Linked DNA regions of Homo sapiens: region 2 is linked to region 1. Evidence: promoter capture Hi-C in human tissues and cell types (Jung and others, 2019). All regions are on one chromosome and are shown on one strand. The core of a region is centred on a gene start or on the middle of the fragment in contact, and the rest is flanking DNA. Distances in the headings are between cores, read along the strand shown. Region 1 holds the start of CEACAM5 (CEA cell adhesion molecule 5). Region 2 overlaps CEACAM3 (CEA cell adhesion molecule 3).

The links. Contacts are between HindIII fragments. The study calls those that stand out against the background at their distance.
Region 2: a contact is called between a fragment that was not itself captured here and the fragment with the promoter of CEACAM5 in region 1, in 3 of the 25 tissues and cell types used here (heart left ventricle, stomach and thymus).

The regions. Positions count from the first base shown.
Region 1 is chr19:41,705,370-41,709,875 of GRCh38, reverse strand. It overlaps CEACAM5 (CEA cell adhesion molecule 5), which reads right to left and starts at 1,250. Exons shown (of 10, transcript NM_004363.6): 1 at 1,081-1,250; 2 at 1-196. The coding sequence starts at 1,144. RefSeq lists silencers at 2,860-2,909, 2,940-2,989, 3,010-3,129. The HindIII fragment of the contact is 20,290 bases long and covers 1-4,506 here.
Region 2 is chr19:41,802,480-41,807,145 of GRCh38, reverse strand. All of the region lies in intron 2 of CEACAM3 (CEA cell adhesion molecule 3), which reads right to left. It also overlaps the pseudogene LOC100422623. Among named protein-coding and RNA genes, the nearest start is that of CEACAM3, 8.2 kb to the right of the region's middle. The HindIII fragment of the contact is 7,650 bases long and covers 1-4,666 here.

The DNA.
Region 1 (4,506 bases), core at 1-2,500:
TGAGTTCCTATTACATATCCTATAATTTGACGGTTGCCATCCACTCTTTCACCTTTGTACCAGCTGTAGCCAAAAAGATGCTGGGGCAGATTGTGGACAAGTAGAAGCACCTCCTTCCCCTCTGCGACATTGAACGGCGTGGATTCAATAGTGAGCTTGGCAGTGGTGGGCGGGTTCCAGAAGGTTAGAAGTGAGGCTAGGAGAGAGCAGAGAGCATCGGTCAATATTGGGACCTATGCATTAGGGTGGAAAAATGGGGTCCTGGGTCCTGAGCAGGTCTCTTCATCCCCCAGCCCTGGAGTGAGTGAGTGTGTGTGTGTGTGTGTGTGTGTGTGTGTCCTACTAGGTCAAGGTCAGCAGTGTGTCTCCTATTTCCTTAGCACCTCTGACCTTGGCATTTCCCTGTGTGGAATCTGCTTTTCCAGGGGTCTTCACGGCTCCCTCCCCATTGCCTTCAGGTCCTGCTCACATCAGGGCATTCTTGGGAGATCCCTTCCCTGACACCTCCTCTAGAGACCCTGGGTCTTCCTTTTCTGACCTTTCCCTGCTCTATTCCCTCCAGGGCTCTTGTCAACACCTGACCTCACATTCTAGATCTCTTTGTATGTCTGTCTTCCTCCCCATGAGAGCATGAGCTTCATGAGGGCAGGGATTTGTGTGATCTTGGTTGCACCCCAGTGCCTGGGACAGGCTGCAGATTCCTGTGGATGAGTTCATGAGGGTTCCCAGGGCCCTCCACAGCCTGGGGCTTATTTTCCAATGTCCGCGGTAGGCGGATGAGGACAGTGTTTCATGCCCTGGTTATGTTTTTATTTAAAGTGTCATCTGATGCAGTTATTATGATTTTTAAAAACGTAGTGGCCAGTGACAATTAACTAGGAAAATAGAACTCTTGAGGTTTTCCTGCCCCTTTCCAATTCCAGTTCAATTTGATTTTTCTGGTGTGACTCCTGTCCCTCTCTGATGTCCTCTTCCCTATTCAGGCTCCAACAGGAGCCCTCTGTCCGTCTCACAGCCCTGTCCTACCCAGGAGACCCCAGCTCCCTCCTCCCACCCTCTCCCAGGTTGTCCTCCCTTCACCTGTGAGCAGGAGCCTCTGCCAGGGGATGCACCATCTGTGGGGAGGGGCCGAGGGAGACTCCATGGTCTCTGCTGTCTGCTCTGTCCTCCTCTGTGGAGAAGAGCTTGAGTTCCAGGAACGTTTTGTCAAGGCTGCTGTGACTGTCTGGTCTGCTGTCCTTCCTCCCTCTGCCCTGAGTCTCTTCCTAGGGCAGGAGTACTTCTCAGCATCACGTGGGTCATGGGTGTGGTCTTTATTCAGGTGTCCTCTGTCCCCTCCCCTCTCATTTCTGCCTCTTTTGTCCCTCCTCTTTTTTCCCTTCTATTTTCAGTTCCTCAGACAAATCTTTTCGGCAAGGTGGATGGACCCCCATCCCCTGGGAGGACAACCTGTCTTCCCCAGTGCTGACCTCTGCTGTGTTCTGTCCTTGGGTCTGTCACACCAGGGGGATTATTTTCCTTTGTGACAGAGAAACCCAGCAGGGTCCCGGGTCTCCCCATGCTCTCCAGGGCTCTGGGAAGGTGGGATGATGCCCAACAGGAAGGTGACAGAGGTGGCTCTGGGGGCTAGAAAAAGGCTCACTGGGTGGTGGCTGGGGAGGGACCAGCCCTCTGTCTCCAGTACCACCAACCCCGCCACTGACCCAGGGATGGAGACCCAGGCCCAGAGGTCTCAGGAGTCCCCAGATCCTGCATGTGGAGGGGGAGGTGTCTTGTGTGTCCTGGAAAGAGAGGACTGTGGTGGAGGGAGGTGGGTGACTCTGGGCTCTGCTGTCCTTGGGGAAGGCTCCAGGGGGACCCTCCCTCTCCGTGTCTGTTGGCTGAGCTGCGGCTCAGGGCCTGTCCATGTTCTCCCTGACAGTCCTGGGTGGTCTCTGTCCTCTGCGAGGCTGACTGTCCTGTGATCACCCCACCTTCCCCATGGTGGTACCAGGAGGGAGTCTGGAGTTGCACAGGGACCCCTGGCAGAACAGGGTCCTCATAGGACCCAGAAAGGAACAGAGCAGGTATGTGGGAGAGATCAGAAGGGTCTGTTGGAGCAAGGGATGGAAACCAGGCTCCACCTCCACTTCCTTAGCAAAGCCAGGTTCCTGTCCAGGGGAATCCGTTTCCTGAGTGATGTCTGTGTGCAATGTCACCCCCTGGAGGGCAAGAGGAGACCTCCGGCCTTGTCTGGAACTGCCCTAGGGATGCTGACCAGGGTCGACGTGGTGTGAGCTGACCCTGAACTCTGGATTAGGCTGCAGGGTCAGGCCGGAGGATCTATTCCCTGCAGGCCTCTGTCCTCCCTTCTGAAGCTCTGGGGGTTGAGGCCTCATTCCTGGGGCAGCCGCGGGCACTTGCTGGCCTCCTCCCATGCTGGTGCCAGTGCCCCTGTGTCCACATGGAACAGACTCTGACTGCTGGGGGCCACACGGAGGTGATATGCTTCTTTTTAGAGATCTCCCACACATTTAACCAGTATTTATGGAGCATCTGTTCCGTGTCAGGCACTGGGCTGGGCCCTGGGATTCCACAGAGAGCAGGACAGACGTGGTCCCTGTCACAGAGTTTTCCTGTAACCGGGAGACAGGCGCTCAGTGAACTTCATGGGACTGAGGAGTTAATGGTAATGACAGGGCTGTGAGGTGACAGCATAGGGGGCGTCGGAGCCTGTGAGAGACTGAGCTGTCCTGGAGATCACAGGGAGCTGCCCTGGGAGACGCCCTTTCAGCTGAGCCCGGGGAAGGAGGGGGTGTAGGGGACAGGAGCTGCCTGCAGAGGGCAGCCGACAGGCCTCAAGTGGGCGGCCGACAAGCCTCAGGTGGGCGGCCGATAGGCTGCAGGGAGGAGCTGACAGAGTCCGTGTGAGGAGCTCGGAGGGCGAGGAGGACGTGGGCCGAGGTGACCCGGGTGAGGGTGGACCCTGCTGGGCTGTGGGCCCGGCTGAGGGAGGTCAGCAGCCCCTGGGGAGGCTCCAGGGTGGGAGGAACTCTGCCGCCCTCTGGTGGACAGGAGGGAAGTGGGGACAGCAGCGGCCCCAGACCAGGCTGTTTTACTCAACACTGATCTCTAGACATTGAACACGGGTCATGCACATGTTATGCCAAAGTGCTACCAGGTTTCAGCTCGGTGAGCCCCAGTCTCTGTGGCTACAAGTGTACTGTCCTCCCTCTTTCACAATCAGATGTCCCCAAATGCAGATTTTTGTCACCTTTTGTGACTTTGCTTTTGTCGGCAGGAGGCTGCGCTGTGCATGCTCCCAGGGGCAGTGATGTCTGGGGCTAAGCGTGTGCGGGGATCTGGGAGTAGAAGATTGTATTAGTCTGTCCTCGCATTGCTATAAAGAAATACCTGAGACTGGGTAATTTATAAAGAAAAGAGGTTTAATTCGCTCATCATTCTGCAGTTGTACAGGAAGCATAGTGGCTTCTGCTCCTGGGGAGGCCTCAGAAAACTTACAATCATTCTGGACGGTGAAGGGGAAACAGGAACGTCTTACATGGCAGAGCATGAGTAAGAGAGAGAGAGAGAGAGGGGAGAGGTGCTACACACTTTTAAACAACCAGATCATGTGAGATCTCTATCACAGAAACAGCATCAAAGCAGAAAATCCACCCGCATTATCCAATCACTTCTCACAAGGCCCCACCTCCAACATTGGGGTTTACAATTTGACATGAGATTTGGGCGGGGACATAGATCCAAATCATATTTGAGAGAGAGGGGCATGAGGAGAAGGTGAATGTTGGGGTAGCAGAGAGGAGCAGGGACAAGTCAACCTCACTTCTCACTCCCTGGGGACCAGAACAGGAGAGCCCGACTCTGGGGGCACAGCACCACACACTCTGTGTGTCCGTGCATCAGGGGAGGTGGGAGCTGCTTCTCTGTTCATGGGACCTGGCCTCACCTGCTGAGATGTCTTCACACTTAGTCCCATCCTGGGCTGCAGCCCCACAGAGCCTGTGTCCTCCTCTCCTCTCCTGCCCATTCCTGGATTTTTCTTCCTGAACCATCTTCTCCCATCTGTGGCTTCACCTGCTCCCGTTTCAGGCAGCTGCCCCTGGATCATTGCCCTGTCACCATCTCTGGGCTCACTGGCCTCTGCCATTTGTTCTGAGACTTGAGCCCTGAGCCCTGAGCCCTGTGAGGGAGGAAGAGTGAAGTGGGGTGGGCGCTGTCCAAGGTGCTGCCCTCTCTGGACAGCTTGAGTGAGGGACCCTGATGTGTCACCTGGGAGGAGGCTCCGGGAGGGAGCTGTGTCAGGGATGCCTGGATCAGGGGGATGGGGCACCTACACCAGGGTGAGCTGGACCTGTGGACTGCAGGAACCCTGCTCTGTGTCATCCATCAGCTCCTCGAGCCCCGTCTTCCTCTCTGTACCTGATTCTCTGGTGTGATCCCTGAGCCCGCGCTAGAGTCCTCCTCACAATGCCTAATGGTCAGATCTATGTGTGGAGACCTAAC
Region 2 (4,666 bases), core at 1,225-3,724, 96 kb before region 1:
GTTGTTGCTGGAGATGGAGGGCTTGGGCAGCTCCGCTGTGCAGAAAACAGAGAGAAGATTGCCCTGTGTGGCACCTGTGATTCCTCCACAGGCATATTTTAATCAGAATCAACATCTCCTATTCTTTGGCCAACTCCACTCCTTAAAAGACCAAGACAAGGCCGGGTGCGGTGGCTCACGCCTGTAATCCCAGCACTTTGGGAGGCCGAGGCGGGCGTATCACGAGGTCACGAGATCGAGACCATCCTGGCTAACACGGTGAAACCCCGTCTCTACTAAAAAATACAAAAAATTAGCCAGGCATGGTGGCAGGCGCCTGTAGTCCCAGCTACTTGGGAGGCTGAGGCAGGAGAATGGTGTGAACCCGGGAGGCAGAGCTTGCAGTGAGCCGAGATCGCACCACTGCACTCCAGCCTGGGCGACAGAGTGAGACTCTGTCTCTCAAAACAAACAAGCAAACAAACAAACAAACACACAAACAAAAAAAGACGAAGACAGATGTGTGTGTCACAGACAGATGCATGACCGTCTGAGGGCTCAGAGACTGTGAGGCTGCCTGCCTGTGAAAGAAGAAGAGACTTTCTCAACTGTGAATTAAGCAGCAGCATTGGGTGTTGGACAGACACAGGACCAGGAGTCACATCCCCTGGCACCTCTCCTGTTCCTTCCCTGATGGCTGACTGCCTGGCTGACCTTGGGGTCCTCACCTGGAACATGCTGGTGCTGAGGTCTCAGAATTACAAGGTGAGGTTATTCTTTCCAGGTATATCATGGTGACTGACATGAGACAGTGAGTCAGTAAAAGGTATAGTAGAAGGCCGGGTGCGGTGGCTCACACCTGTAATCCCAGCACTTGGGGAGGCCGAGGTGGGCAGATCACCTGAGGTCAGGAGTTCGAGACCAGCCTGACCAACATGGCGAAAAACCCAGTCTCTACTAAAAATACAAAAATTAGCTGGGTGTGGTGGAGCATGCCTGTAATTCCAGCTACTCGGGAGGCTGAGGAAGGAGAATCACTTGAACCTGGGAGGCAGAGGTTGTAGTGAGCCGAGATTACACGACTGCACTCCAGCCTGAGTGACAGAGCAAGACTCCGTAACAACAACAAACAACAAACAACAACAACAACAACAACAACAAACAACAACAACAGGAAGAGTAGAATCCCAACTTAGAAAGAGGGCGGGGACATGCAGGAGCTGGTGGCTTTGGAGCAGAACCATGTTCTCTGTCCTCAGTCCTTAATGTGTTTTCTCCTCCTGCAGAGGGCAGGTGAGGACTCCGTGGAACTTAATAAGAAATACATATGAACGTTTGCAAATGCAGAACTGACTGGTGGAAAGAGGGAGCATGAAGCTGCTGGCAATCTGGTCCTCATGGACTCTGTGTTTGATGGATATGAGAGAGACATTTGGGAAGAATCTTTGCAAATATTTTCTCCCATTGGAGATTATGTTAAGTGAAAGAAGTCAGTCGTACAAGGACAACTACTGTACGGTTCCACGAATACGAGGTCCCTAGAGTAGTCAAACTCATGGAATCAGAGAGTAGAATGCAGACCGGGTGCGGTGGCTCATGCCTGTAATCCCAGCCTTTTGGGATGCTGAGGCGGGCGGATCACCTGAGGTCGGGAGTTCCAGACCAGCCTGGCCAACATGGTGAAACCCCGTCTCTACTAAAAATACAAAAATTAGCCAGGTGTGGTGGCACATGCCTGTAATCCCAGCTACTTAAGAAGGCTAGGGAGAATTGCTTGAACCTGGGAGGCGGAGGTTGCAGTGAGCCAAGATCACACCATTGCACTCCAGCCTGGGTGACAAGAGTAAAACTCTATCTAAAAAAAAAAAAAAAAAAAAAAAAGAAGAAAAAAGAATAAAAGAGCAGAGTGGTGATTTCCAAGGGCTGGCAGGGAGTTGTTCCTTGGGTGTGCAGTTTCAATTATGCAAAATATGGAGGTTCTAGAGATCTGCTGTACAGCTTGGTGTCTATAATTAATAGAGTTTGAGTATCTCTTATGCATAAGAGCAAAAGTGTTTTGGATTTCTAATTATTTTTTATTTTGGAATATTTGTATTACAAGTATCGGTTTAGCATCCCAAATCTGAAAATCTAAAATTTCAAAATGCTCCAGTGAGCATTTCCTTTGAACATCATGCCAGTGGTCAAAAAATTTTGGATATTGGCACATTTTGTATTTTGGATTTTTGGATTTGGGATTCTCCATCTGTAATAGTCCATTTTGCCCTTAAAAATTTGTCAGGAGTTTAGACAAAGGAGTTATGATCTCACTATAGTGAAAAAAAAAAAAGAAATTTGGGGGAAATTAATTTTTTTTCTATCAGTGGAAATTATTATTAATGGTCGAAAGGTCTGAGGTCAATTGGTTGCTGTAGCATTTCTCTTGATAACATAATAAGGTTTAGGTCTGCTAAATGCTGAAGACCAGCATAATCATGTTAAGCTCAAAGAAAGATGCTGACTTTGGTTTGAAATCAGTGACTCTCTGGGTAGAGAGAGAATTGTGAGTCCTGTTAGGAAGACAGAACTGGTCAGAGGGAAAGTCTGAGATGTCTCAATAATACACAGAAAAGAAAAATACCAAATTAGGAGATGTGATGTGTGTATGTCAGTAAATGTCAAAAGAGCCCTCACCTCAATTTCCTGTGCAGAGTTAGGCAAAATAGGAAGGGGCCTAAACAGGCATATGAAACACCTTCCTCCTTTTCTTTACGCCTCAGGAAACACAACTAGAATTTGATTAAATTAGCCCGAATTGGGCAGAGTCTAAGTGAGATGCCGGTGGCTGGTGCATCTCCCCACCCGAAGACCCCATCTTATGATAATGGCATCATCATGAGGGACACATGTGTGTGGAACAAGCAGTGGGCCCATCAGACAGCACAGGGCTGGCCAGCTCCACCTGGTCCCAGGAACCACCAGTATTCCCATTACATGTATGTTACAGCTTTTAGAAAATATAAAATATGCCATTGTCAATACAAAATCTTGAATGTGAAGTTGAATCTGCTTTTCCACTTTTTTTACCCACTCTTTTTTTTTTTTTGAGGCAGAGTTTTGCTCTTGTTGCCCAGGCTGGAGTGAAATCGCGCTATCTTGGCTCACTACAATCTCTACCTCCCAGGTTCAAGCAATTCTCTTGCCTCAGCCTCCTGAGTAGCTGGGATTATAGGCATCTGTCATCATGCCTGGCTAATTTTTTGTATTTTTAGTAGAGACAGGGTATCATCATGTTGGCCAGGCTGGTCTCGAACTCCTGACCTCAGGTGATCCACCCGCCTCAGCCTCCCAAAGTGCAGGGATTACAAGCATGAACAACCACGCCCGGCCTTTTCCCACTCTTTTAAAGCTTTGCTGTTTCAGGCCGGGCATGGTGGCTCATGCCTGTAATCCCAGCACTTTTGGAGGCCAAGGCGGGCAGATCATGAGGTTGGGAGGTCGAGACCATCCTGGATAACACGGTGAAACTCCGTCTCTACTAAAAATACAAAAAATTAGCCGGGCATGGTGGCGGGCGCCTGTGGTCCCAGCTATTTGGGAGGCTGAGGCAGGAGAATGGCGTGAACCCAGGAGGCAGAGCTTGCAGTGAGCTGAGATAGCATCACTTCACTCCAGCCTGGGGTACAGAGCGAGACTCTGTCTCAAAAAAAAAAAAAACAAACAAAACAACACACACACACACACACACACACACACACACATACACACACAAAACTTTGCTGTTCAGTTTTGGAAGTTTCTACTGACACACCCTCAAGCTAGAGATTCTTTCCTCAGCTGTGTCCAGGCTACCAGTAAGCCCATTGAGGGCATTCTTCATTTACCTTACAGGAGGGTTTCTTTTTTTATCTCTAGCATTTCTTTTGGTTCTGTCTTAGAATATCGATCTCTCTGCTTACATCACCCATCTGTTCCTGCATGGGGTCTACTTTTTCCATCATAACCTTTACTGTATTAACCAGAGTTGTTTTAAATTCCCGTTCTGCTAATTTCAACATCCCTGCCACATCTGAGTCTGGTTCTGATTGTTGTTCTGAGTTTCAAATTGCATTTTTTTTTGTTTTTGCCTTAGTCTGTCTTGTGCAGTTTTGTTGAAAGCCAGACATGATATTCTGGGTAAAAGGAACTTGGGTGAGCAGGTGTTCAGTGACGCTGTGGTGAGTGTTGGGAGGGAAGGGTTCTGTGGTCCTGGATGAGGTCTGCAGCCTGGGCTGTGAACTTCATAAGTGACTCTCTGTATTTTTGCCCCCTTAGGTGGGACATGATGGCTACAGGGGGCTGGAGTTGGACATTTACCCACTGCCAGGCCAGTTAGGCTCCCATAAAACCCCAGCAGGTCAGGCTCTGGTAAAAGTTTCTCTTAAAGGCAGCTGTTGCTAAGAAGAATAGAATTCACGGAGATCTTTCCAAATAATTCCTTTCCCCCTCCCGCTTCAGGAAGGAGGAGGGGATCTTTGTTGCCTATTCACTATGAGAATCTGGTAGCTCTAGGAGTTAAGACTCACAAAAGAGTCCCTCCTTGTCCCAGCCCCAAGATTGATCCCTCCCCTGGAGTGTTTAGTTTAACTCTGGGGCATGTCCATGCTGAGCCTCCAGCAATTTGTCAGTTACAGTTCAGATTTCTGACCCCAGCGCTGGTTCTGCAGGG